2 separate regions of the Homo sapiens genome follow, and region 1 is linked to region 2. The links are contacts of gene promoters, found by promoter capture Hi-C in human tissues and cell types (Jung and others, 2019). All regions are on one chromosome and are shown on one strand. Each heading gives the region's core, a stretch centred on a gene start or on the middle of the fragment in contact. The rest is flanking DNA. Distances are from core to core; before and after follow the strand shown. Region 1 has its middle 6.5 kb from the start of LINC01066. Region 2 holds the start of TEX26 (testis expressed 26).

Region 1 (5,606 bases), core at 2,143-4,642, 58 kb after region 2:
TTCTGTGTATTTGTCAATTACTGAGAGAAGAGTGCTGAAGTCTCCAACTATAATTGCAGATTTATCTTTTTATTTTCAGTCCTACCAGTTTTCGGTAATGTATTTTGAAGTTTTGTTATTAGCTGCAAACACACTGTTATGTCTTCTTGGTGAATTGATCCCTTTTTCATGATATACTATCCCTCTTTATCTCTGAAAATGTTCTTTGTGTTTTTTTTTTGTTTTTTGTTTTTTTTTTTGAGGCAGAGTCTCATTCTGTCACAGAGACTGAGTACAATGGCATGATCTCGGCTCACTGCAGCCTCCACCTCCTGGGTTCAAGTGATTCTCCTGCCTCAACCTCCTGAGTACCTGGGATTACAGGCACCTGCCACCATGTCCAGCTAATTTTTGTATTTTTAGTAGAGATGGGGTTTCACCAAGTTGGCCAGGCTGGTCTCAAACTCCTGACCTCAGGTGATCCGCCCACCTCGGCCTCCCAAAGTGCTGGGATTACGGGCCACAGTGCCTGGCCCAGGCCTCTCTCTTATTTTCCTGGGGAACAGTAGAACACTGTGTTCTACTGTTACTGATTCCTCAATGCTTGTTTGACTTGTGGTGGGGGTGTTCTCTGTTGTTTTGGTTAAGCCTTATTCTTAAGCAGGCACTGTGTCCCTGGGTCTCAGGGCATGGCCTTCTCAGGGCTCTTTCCTTTCCCCCAGCACTTATTCCTGTCCCTCCCCCATGAATAGAGGATGTTTTCTGTTCCCTTCCCCCAGCAGCAGTGAGTTTTCCCCAATCCTCTTGCAGATGAAGGCTTTGTTCCATAGGGGAGTTAAGGGAGAGGCCTGGTTAAGATTTCAAGCTTCTCCTGAATTAGCTGCTGTCTTCAAGGCTTGTACCAAGAAGGATGTTTTCTCCCAAGGTTCACCACTCCCTTTTGTGAGTCCTTGGTGGGGTACATGGAGAAAAGTCTACAAGAGGGTGTGAACTCCCCTACGTTTGCAGCCCCGTCAAGCACCACACTCTCTTGCCGGCCCATCCTCTCAGCCTATATCAAGTTAGTAAGTATTCTCACGGAATTCTTCTTTCTGGTGTCCGGCCACTTCTGGCTCAGGTAAGCAAATGATAGTGTCCCATCTCTCCCTGCAGATACCTGTGTCTCCTGAGTTTTGGTTGCCCTGTGTCGTCAGCTCTCTGATGGGCATAAGAAAAGTTATGAACTTGCAGTTTGTCCGATTTTCTATTGCTGTTACCTCATTAGGGTGGGAAATACACCGTTTCTGACTTTCTAGATTCCTGAACAGAAATCAAAAGTCAGGAATAGGGTTTTTATTTGAAATTTTCTGTCTTTTAACAGTTTCCAACTAATTCAAATTTTTTAAATATGCAAGTCAAAACACATCTTGGATAGGATCCCTATGTGATCTCTGCTCCCAGGGTCTTGCCATGTACCAATTTGTGCCAGTTTGGGGTTCAGGGGATTTTCTAGACCTGTTTAGCCAAATTAAAGGTGTAAATCTTACATCACAAGTCTTTTCTTATTTGCTGTTTATAATTAGTTTATGGATATAACTGGTCAATGAGTAATCAGCTACTAACTAATCTTTTTTAATTAGTCTAATGTTTATTATTTCATGGTAACTATAAACCCCCATAAAATACTTTGGATAACACGTAATTGGAATTGTATTGGAGTCATATGATGAAAACCCATGAAACCTACTGAAGGACATAAAGTAAGGCTTCGGTAAATGAAGAGCCAGTGCAGTCTTATAAAAGAAGATTCAGGCCGGGCACGTTGGCTCACGCCTGTAATCCCAGCACTTTGGGAGGCCAAGGCAGGCGGATTACGAGGTCAGGAGATCGAGACCATCCTGGCTAACACGGTGAAACCCCGTCTCTACTAAAAATACAAAAAAATTAGCCGGGCGTGGTGGCGGGCGCCTGTAGTCCCAGATACTCGGGAGGCTGAGGCAGGAGAATGGCGTGAACCCGGGAGGTGGAGCTGGCAGTGAACCAAGATTGCGCCACTGCACTCCAGCCTGGGCAACAGAGCGAGACTCCATCTTAAAAAATAAATAAATAAATAAATAAATAAAAGAAGATTCAACATTGTAAAAATGCCACTTCTTCCTAAATTGACATAAAGTTAACACCAGTAGAATTTCGAACAGTATTTTTTTATGAGTGTTGTGTGTGCGTGCAGGTAACTTGACAAAAAATTATAAAGCGCATTTGGGAAAGAACAATATCAAGAATAACCAGGAAATTTTTGATAAGTAAGATGAGTAATTAGGAGAAAACTTCCCTAACAAATATTAAAATGTATTATAAAATTGCTATACTGTACTATGTTACAGGTAACAGGAAAGATGAGCAGATTAATAGGACAAAAATAGGATCAAGAAAAAGGCTAAAATATATATGAGAACTTAGTGTGTGATAAAGGTGCCAGTGCAAAACCGTGAGAAAAAAAACGGCTTATTGAATACACGTTATTTAAAAAAAAATCCTCTGGAGAAAAAAAAAGATGCACCTTCAAATTGCTACTCAACAAAAATAAATTCCAGATGGAAGAAATAAACAAATGTAAACTATAAGCTATAACATAAAATTTTCCAACTACTAGAAGAATTTTTATTTTATTTATTTATTTATTTTAAGTTCTGGGATGCATGTGCAGAATATGCAGGTTTGTTACATAGGTATACGTGTGCCATGGTGGTTTGCTGCACCCATCAACCCGTCTTCTAGGTTTTATGTCCCGCATGCATTAGGTATTTGTCCTAATACTCTCCCTTCCCTTGCCCTCTACCCCCTGACAGGCCCCAGTGTGTGTTGTTCCCCTCCCTGCATCCGTGTATTATCCTTGTTTGACTGCCCCTTATGAGTGGGAACATGCAGTGTTTAGTTTTCTGTTCCTGTGTTAGCTTGCGGAGAATGATGGCTTCCAGCTTCATCCATGTCCCTGCAAAGGACATGAACTCATCTTTTTTGTGGCTGTATAGTATTCCATGATGTATATGTGTCACATTTTCTTTATCCAGTCTATCATTGATGGGCATTTGGGTTGGTTCCAAGTTTTTGCTATTGTAAATAGTGCTGCAATAAACATACATGTTCAACCATTGTGGAAGACAGTGTGGTGATTCCTCAAGGATCTAGAACCAGAGATACAATTTGACCCAGCAATCCCATTACTGGACATATACCCAAAGGATTATAAATCATTCTACTATAAAGAAAAATTTTTAAAGAAAATCTGTGGCTAAGGAAAGCCCTTTCTAAGCATGCTGCAAAAACCAGAAACTTAAATAAACAGACTACTAAATTTGTCTACATAAAGTATGGCTAAAACAAACTAAAAAGACCTCCCCCCCACCAAAAAAAAATCATAACCGTAAAAATGTTTAGGAGACAAATAACAGAAAAAGTATTTGCGTCATATATTAAAAAGTAGCAATAGTAGTATTATCTATGCAAATATTAATCGTAGTTCATGTAAATCAATAAGAAAATAACAAACGCCTCAATGGAAAAATGGACAATTGTTTGTCACATTGGCAAAGATGACCCAGCATCAGCAAGGGTGGTAAAGGGCACGCTCGTGCATTCATGGGATGTGTATCAATCTCCCAGAGTTGCTGTATCAAAGCACCACAAACTAGGCGGCTTAAAATAACAGAAATTTATTATCTCATAGTTCTAGGGGCTAGAAGTCAGAAACCAGGCTGTTTGGCAGGGCCATGCACCTCTGAAGCTTATAAGGAAAGATCCTTCCCTGCTTCTTCCAGCTTCTGGTAGCCTAGGCATTGCTTGGTTTGTAGATTTATCACTCTAATCTCTGCCTCTGTTGTCACATGGCATTCTCTACCTTCCTTCTGTGTCTGTCTGTGTCCAAAGTCTCCTCTTCCTATAAGAACTCCACTCATATTGGATTATGGCCCACTCTAATCCCTCATGACTTTGTCTTGATTACATCTGCAAAGACCCTATTTCCAAATAAAACGGCATTCACAGGTTCTGGAGGTTGGAAATGCAACATATCTTTTTGAGGGATACAATTCAACTCATAACAGAGTGTAAGTTGGGTACAGTCTTTCCAAGGGACAGTTTGGCAATATGTTTCCGAGTTCCATTTTCATAAATATACTCTAATGACGTCTTTGCACAAATGGGAAACTTACATACCGGTTTTTGTTGTGATTGTTCATCAAAGTGTCATGGTCAGTGATTGTCTGGGACTGGTGCGTAAGAGTTAAAATAATTTACCAAGACAGGAATGAGTTTAGAAAGGCAGGTTTATTGCAGAAAGGGGAGGTATGTTGCAAGGATATAACGGGCAAGGCAGCGGAAGGAAGGATGTCTGCCAAGAGGCAAGGCCTGGAGGGGAGTTTTATAAGGAGGCTAAATGCTTGTGGACAGGATGCTGGGGCATAGATGGGCTGTGAGCTGAGTGCCTGTCACAGGGTGCCTGAGTGCTAGCGCGCCTTTTGCAGTTGACCCCATTTCTAGGAATATTTGTTCCTCTTTACCCCAGCTAAGCCCGTTCTTTAACTTTTTCTCTTAACTTTTTAGGGCCCCGCTCAAAGCACTATATAAAACTCCGGAAAAAATGTCAACAACCGTTATGCTCATTAATACGGAACCTTTAAGGAAATTCAGAATGAAACATTATGCACATATTTAGGTCTATTTTTATTGATACGGAAACACACTCTAGATATCTTGCTAAGTGAAAAAAGCAGGTTACAAAATAGTATGATCTCATTTATATAAAATTGTACATCTTTACATAAATGTAGAGCCTGAAAAAATGTTCAGCAAATTGGCCACGCACGGTGGCTCACGCCTGTAATCCCAGCACTTTGGGAGGCCGAGGCGGGCGGATCACGAAGTCAGGAAATCGAGACCACGGTGAAACCCCGTCTCTACTAAAAAAAAAAATACAAAAAATTAGCCGGGCGCGGTGGCGAGCGCTGAGGCAGGAGAATGGCGTGAACCATCTTACATGTAGTATTTAAAAGTAGAGCATCTCCACACTTTTTTTTTTAAAGGCTGGGAGAGGTCATTTTTGTGAAGTTTAAAGAACCCTGCACTTGAGGACAGAGAGCTGGGCTGGCCCGTCTCCAAACAGAAATGGCTGTATTGCTTACTGATTATGAAATCTCACATGCATCACATCTTATCTGGATTTTTTTCTTCCTATGCAGGTGAGGATTACAACACTGGAGCAGTTATTTCAAGGATTAAGTAGATGAACTATTTGGGAGCCACTGGCAAACTGGGAAGTGCCAATTCATTCTTCAACTGTGTTAGGCAGAGTTCTAGGCTCTGTGGATTCCTCAGGAAAGGGGATAAATGTACATTCATGGAGCTAATATGCTGAAGGGAGAAAACTGACAAACTAATACACAAATCTTTGCTATAATAACAAGTATGAAAGTATGAGGAAAAACATAAAATGGGTGTAATACAAACATGTATTTCATATAAATCTGCCATGTAAATATGTATCACAATGTCGAGTTCAGAAGTATCAAGAAAAATACAACAGGCTAAGGGCATAGAGGGGCCTGAGAGTTTGCTGTTTGAGGTAGGGTGGTGGGAGAAGCCCTCCCCAT
Region 2 (5,680 bases), core at 2,166-4,665:
GCGGCTCTCCAGCACACCCATCTTCTCCAGGCCTGGACCCCATCTGCTCTCTCCTGTAGCTTCAAGCTCTATCTTTCTGCTCCTGACCCTTGGCCTAGGAATTTGGTTACTCCTCCCCTGTTTCAAGTAATAACTCTCTCTACCTGAGCCCCTCCTCCTCCCCTGGCTAGAGGTTTTCTTCTCTGTTATAGTTCAAACCTGAGTGTTCTATATTTGCTATCTCTTCACCCTTACCACCCATCCCAGTCTTTACTACTTCACATCATGTTCTCTATGTGTGTGTTTGTGTGTGTGTGCGCGCACATGCACGGACCTGCATGCGCAGGTGCGTGTGTGCATGCAAAAATAAATTGTCACAAATTTTTTGTTTTTTGTTTTTGGAGATGGGGTTTTTCTCTTGTCACCCAGGCTGGAGTGCAGTGGCACCACTACAGCTCACTGCAGCCTCAAACTCATGGGCTTAATTGATCCTCCCACCTCAGCTTCCCAAGTAGCTGGGACTACACATATGCATCACCTTGCCTAATTTTTTCATTTTTTGTAGAAACGGGGTCTCCCTATGTTGTCCAGGCTTGTCTCAAACTTCTAGGCTCAAAGGATCCTCTTGCCTTGGACTCCCAAAGTATTGGGATTACAAGCATGAGCCACCTCGCTTGGCTGTAATCACTTCAACTGAAAACAACCAATTAACATTTAACCCATTCAATACAACTATTCTCAATTGTTTTGGATCAATTTGAAACTCTGCTAAAGAGATATCAGTAACCTAAATTAGTAACCTAGATGCTTTAATTTCTGAATGATTAACTTACTCTGGCAGAATGTTGTGGAATTTTGCCTCTCCTCCTTCTGGAATGAGAGGCCAGGATTTACTTAAACTTCCAACCTGGCCCCTGCACTGCATTGTTTAACCCAAGCATGCTCAGGTGAAGTCCAAGCTTCTCAGGATGGCCTGCAGGGCCTTCCACCCCAGCCGGCTCTCAGTTTCCCCTGACACACTTTACAATATGGCAATATTAAACTACTAAAGGTCTTGGGACTACACACAGTGTTCCATGCCTCTGGGCCCTTGCGTTACTTTGTGTCACCTGTCACCTCCCCCTATTCACCTGGTTGACTCCAAGCATCCTTGAGGACCCAGCTCAGGCACCTCCTTTTCTAGGAAGTTGTTCACTATAATAATCAGGGTGTTGCCCCGATGCCATCATACAGCTCATATTCAGTGCACAGTCAGTATTTGTTGAGGGAGAGAAGAAAGCAGGGGGGAAATACTCTACTTAATCATTTAGAAGGGTTGCCTCAGGCAACCAGAATTCAAAGGCAGGAATAGTGCTATACCGCTAGCCATAAAATGGACCCACGCAAAAATACACTTTGAAGTAGAAAGACTATAAAAGGAATGAAGATCAGAATAGCAACAAGAGCAATATCTTAGATTTGTGTGATTTTACAATTTATAAATTATTGTTAGAACTCATCATGTTTACAGCACAGTGAGGTGGGTGCTGGTATTCTCATTTACAGATAAGGAGACCAGGGATCAGGGAAGGATTTGCTTACCCCTAAGGGCCTGCAGTGACAGAAAGATCCTTTGGCTCTCTATTTGGTTCCTACCGCACCATTTCACAGCTTGCCTAAAATGAGACAAATTGTAAGATATTAATAAGAATTCACTTTCAAAATTCTATATACTTGCTGCTCTATTTTAAACATATATTTCTCTTAAATTATGCTATGCTAATTAGCTCTACCATTTCCAGACAGTAATCTGTTATTGGGTGCTACTTTTTAAATTTAGATGCCACTACTAAATCCTAATTTAGACTCATTCCTTTTAATAACATCTATGCCTTCTAATGTGTTCCACCCTCCATTGCTTCAAAACATGAGAGTTTATAATGTGTTATATTCATTCCATTATATGGATAGAACTCTACCTTCAGGAAATTCTAGTTTAGCTCTTCATTTTAAAGACATTCCTTGCACATATATTTGGGATCCTTACCTTGATGCTTTTTCTGTCTCCTTTGATAAATTCCTCCTTTGTCACACTGCACTGTTTCTCTGAGGTCTTGTATTAGAATAGCCCCTTAAGAATAAGGAACTGTTGTAAATTGCTTTGTAAACAGGTTGCCAGCCAACTCCAAAATGTATTTCCTGTCTTCTCTTTTCACCCAAGTGGGTAATAACTGTGTTGTAACCTGGAGACAGTCAGTAGTTACTAACCACCTAGTATGTCAAATTACCAGGTAAGGTTATCCAGCAAAAGGGGCTCACTGCACTAGAAGCCAACACTATGACACCAAGTTTTTGAGAAAAGGAAAGCTTCACATTGCAAGTTAACTTCTGAGGAAACAAAAGTCCAGTTCAAATCTGTCTTGTACTGGCTTTAGGGCAGTAATTTTATTACAAAAGGTTTAGGGTTGGATCCTGGGGTTAGCAGGTGATTGGTGGAAGCAAAGGGAACATCTGGGAAGTCTTCAGGCATGCATGGCTCTCTCTTCATGCTTCCTGGTGGGTCCCATGTGCAAATTTGGAGGGAGTTGGTATGAAACATGCAGTAGAAATTCAGGCTGTGACATCAGCAAGCTTGCTGTGCGCAAACTGCATTTGGCCATATTGATTCCGGCTGATTTCAGTCAGTTTTGTTATAAGCAGAGGGAGTTTCAGCAAATTGTTTCTTTTCTTATCTGCCCCTGAAAACAAGAATTTCTGTTAGTTATTGGTGTCTTTGACTCTTTGAAACAGTTTCAGTAGTTCCCAAGATATGAAGATAAAAGACCCCCTTCATCAGTGAAAACTCTTACAAGGGGATGAAAGACACAGCTTCCTCTATGAGAGCACAAGAACAATTAAATTGACCCTCACAAACACTATGGTTGGTGCCAGGAACGTGGCCTGGTGAGGAGGACAGTGTCACATCCTCCCTGCCCACTCCTGTTTCCACGCGTGCATTTCCTCTTCTGCCCCTCTCCTAAGCCAGGATGACCCTTCTGACCGCGTGGAACTATCACAGAAACTGCTTCCATTTATACCAGATGACTTGGGATTCAGTCTTCTTGCTTGGTTTTTATTGACTGCAAAAATCCATGACAACTTTGCGCACATTTGCTTAAGCTGAAAGCAAATGGATGAAAGTTTGTAGTTGAAAATCTACTTTCTCTTCAATCTCTTCCCTTTTTGCTTTTCTTAGGAAACATACAAGACAGTGGTCCGGAAAGCTCACTGCAAGAACTGTACAAATAATGTAAAAGTAAGGCATCCATAAGATCAAAGCCACATTTCTTTGCTCTCTGCACCCCATTCCCGCGCCGGCCAGGTTAAGCCTCCTGCGTGGCCAGCACCCCTTGGCAGGGGCAGAACTCCCTGGAACCCGATCCTTGTCTCCATGGCGACGCGTCACAAAGCAGCCCGCGGCTCCCGCAAGCGCTGAGATAGCTGGAGCCAGGGCCCCGCGGCCGCCTCCTGGGGCAGAATGGAACAGCCTGGGCCCAGGGCTCCGGATCCCTCTCTCTGCCACCACAACCTCCAGCCAAGTAAGACAGCAGACTCTGCCGGTCTGCGGGGCGGGGCTGGGGTCTTTCCCGGGGAAAGGGTCCTGTTGAGAAAAAGGGGCCTTAGTATTTAAGGGTGTGGCATCGCTCTTAGGAGTATGCTCAACTGAGGAAAAGACGGGGAGTCAGGGAGAATGACAGGGCCTTCATGACGCTGCCCCTTTTCAGTCCTTCGCATAACCTTTGCCAAATCCCCGCTCCCTAAAACGCGCAGGGTTTTTAAACACTCGAGGAAGTGCCTGGCTAAGAGGGGACAGGAAAAAAGGAAGAACTGGTGATTTTCCAAGGAAAACAGGGCCAAAGGCAAAGAAGAAAGAGAAGTCCTGGAAGCTCTGAAGAGAACAGGTCCTGCCTGAGTCCCGATCCCCATATAGGATCTTGGAAACAGCAAGGAAAGTGGGGGAAGGGTTGGCTGCTGAATGGAGTCCCAGCTGTGTCTGCAGAGGCAGACGCCCTCCCTGGGCTGTCGCACCAGGCTGGGAGCCATGGCCTTCAGCTGCCGCCTCTAACCTGAATTGATTTTTCTTCCACAGAGATTTTGTATTTCACAGAGGTAGTGCTTTTCATCCTAATTCTGCCCACAGATGCAGCAGGTTCACCAGTTCAGCCTTTTGGGTCTGTGGAGGGAGAACCACTCTAGCTGTGACGCTAGTGGCATGATTACCGTGTAGTCAGCTCCATCATAGTCTCTTGTGGCAATAATTGGCCATTGCTGCTGTATAGTTGGGTAACTGTGATTCCACAGTGGCTATGGAGCAGTGAAGGATTGTTCAAGTACAAATTCCCTAGAATTGTGCTCCCAAAAGAGTGAATGAAATGCATATTTTCATTCCAATTCATTCCGTTGTAAATTAAGAATGGAAAATGAAAATACTTAATTAGTGCAGAAAATATCTAATACACTCAGTTTCTATATGATGGGAAGGCAAACAGGAGAGACAGAGGAGGGAGGATCCCCTCCTAGCATCCCGACAGCACCCCTTTGGATGCTTCTCTTCCCTTTCTAACCACCCTGTTTTCCCACTGTCTCCCCATTTCATCCCCTTCTTGTCTGGGAACTGTTGGAGTCCCCCAGGATTGATCCTTCTAGGCTTACCTTCTCTTTGTGACCATATCCTGCACAGGGCTTCAAGTGCTGCATAAAGGTGCCAACAACTCTCTAACCTTTATCTCTGACTTGGACTTTCTTCCTACTTTTTCAGACCAGAATATCTAACTGTCTACCAGACAGTTCCATGTGGGTGTCACAGCAGGGCCTCCAACTTGACATGTGCAAAATCACACTCCTTGTCCTCCTCAAACCTTCCAGACTTTGAGAGTTCAGTTAAGAGGGTCCTAGCTGCTCAATTTAGAAGGGAAGGCAGCTTCCTTGAGACTGCAGTTTGATCACCAGGTCTCTTTGATTCTGCCTCCAAAGCTCTTTTTCCCCCAGGTGAATTCGCCCCTTTACCTCCAGGCTTGGGCCTCTAATGGCTACTCTGTGCCACTTCATTCCCCACTGCTGGGAGAGTCACCCTCCAAATGGTAGGCTTGATGTGTCCCCACTGCCCAGGTTTGGTCCGAAATAGGATGAGGTTGATGGTGACTGATGACTAACTGTTATTGAATAATTACTACAGATGGGGCTCTCAGGTGTTGTATTAGTTTCCTGTGGCTGCTATGTGTTCCCACAGACTGGTGGATTCAAACAACAAAAATGTATTTGCTCACAGCTCTGAAGGTCGAGAGCCTGAAATCAAGGTCTGGACAAGTCTGCACTCCCTCTACAGGCCCTAGGGGAGAAGTGGTCCTTACGTCTTCCAGCTTCAGGTAGCCATCGGCACTGCTAGTGATGGCAGTGGCTGCTGCCATCATGCTGGCTGCAGCAGGGAAGCACAGCTGGGGCTGCAACACTCCATGGAGCCCGTGGGAGCTGCCCCTTCTGAGTTGGGATGGGAGCTCCCTGTGCCGCTACAGCCGCCCAAACTGCAGCTACAGACCCAGGCCTCCTGCTCTATGGAGCAAGCAGGAGCCCTGCAGTCCTGGGCGAGGCTACAGCCACCCAAACTGCGGCTGTGGGTCTGAGCCTCCCTGTGCCTCTGAGCCTCCCTGTGGAACCCACGGCTGCAGACCTGGGCCTTTCACTC

The links. The method cuts DNA at HindIII sites, captures the fragments that hold promoters and counts their contacts. A contact is called where the count stands out against the background at its distance.
Region 1: a contact is called between a fragment that was not itself captured here and the fragment with the promoter of TEX26 in region 2, in 1 of the 25 tissues and cell types used here (pancreas).

Annotation. Positions count from the first base shown.
Region 1 is chr13:30,986,982-30,992,587 of GRCh38, forward strand. No RefSeq gene overlaps it. Among named protein-coding and RNA genes, the nearest start is that of LINC01066, 6.5 kb to the right of the region's middle. The HindIII fragment of the contact is 6,426 bases long and covers 180-5,606 here.
Region 2 is chr13:30,929,241-30,934,920 of GRCh38, forward strand. It overlaps TEX26 (testis expressed 26), which reads left to right and starts at 3,416. Exons shown (of 7, transcript NM_152325.3): 1 at 3,416-3,536. The coding sequence starts at 3,476. TEX26-AS1 (TEX26 antisense RNA 1) reads right to left here and starts at 3,368. Exons shown (of 4, transcript NR_038287.1): 1 at 2,006-3,368; 2 at 1,561-1,634. The HindIII fragment of the contact is 5,735 bases long and covers 1,632-5,680 here.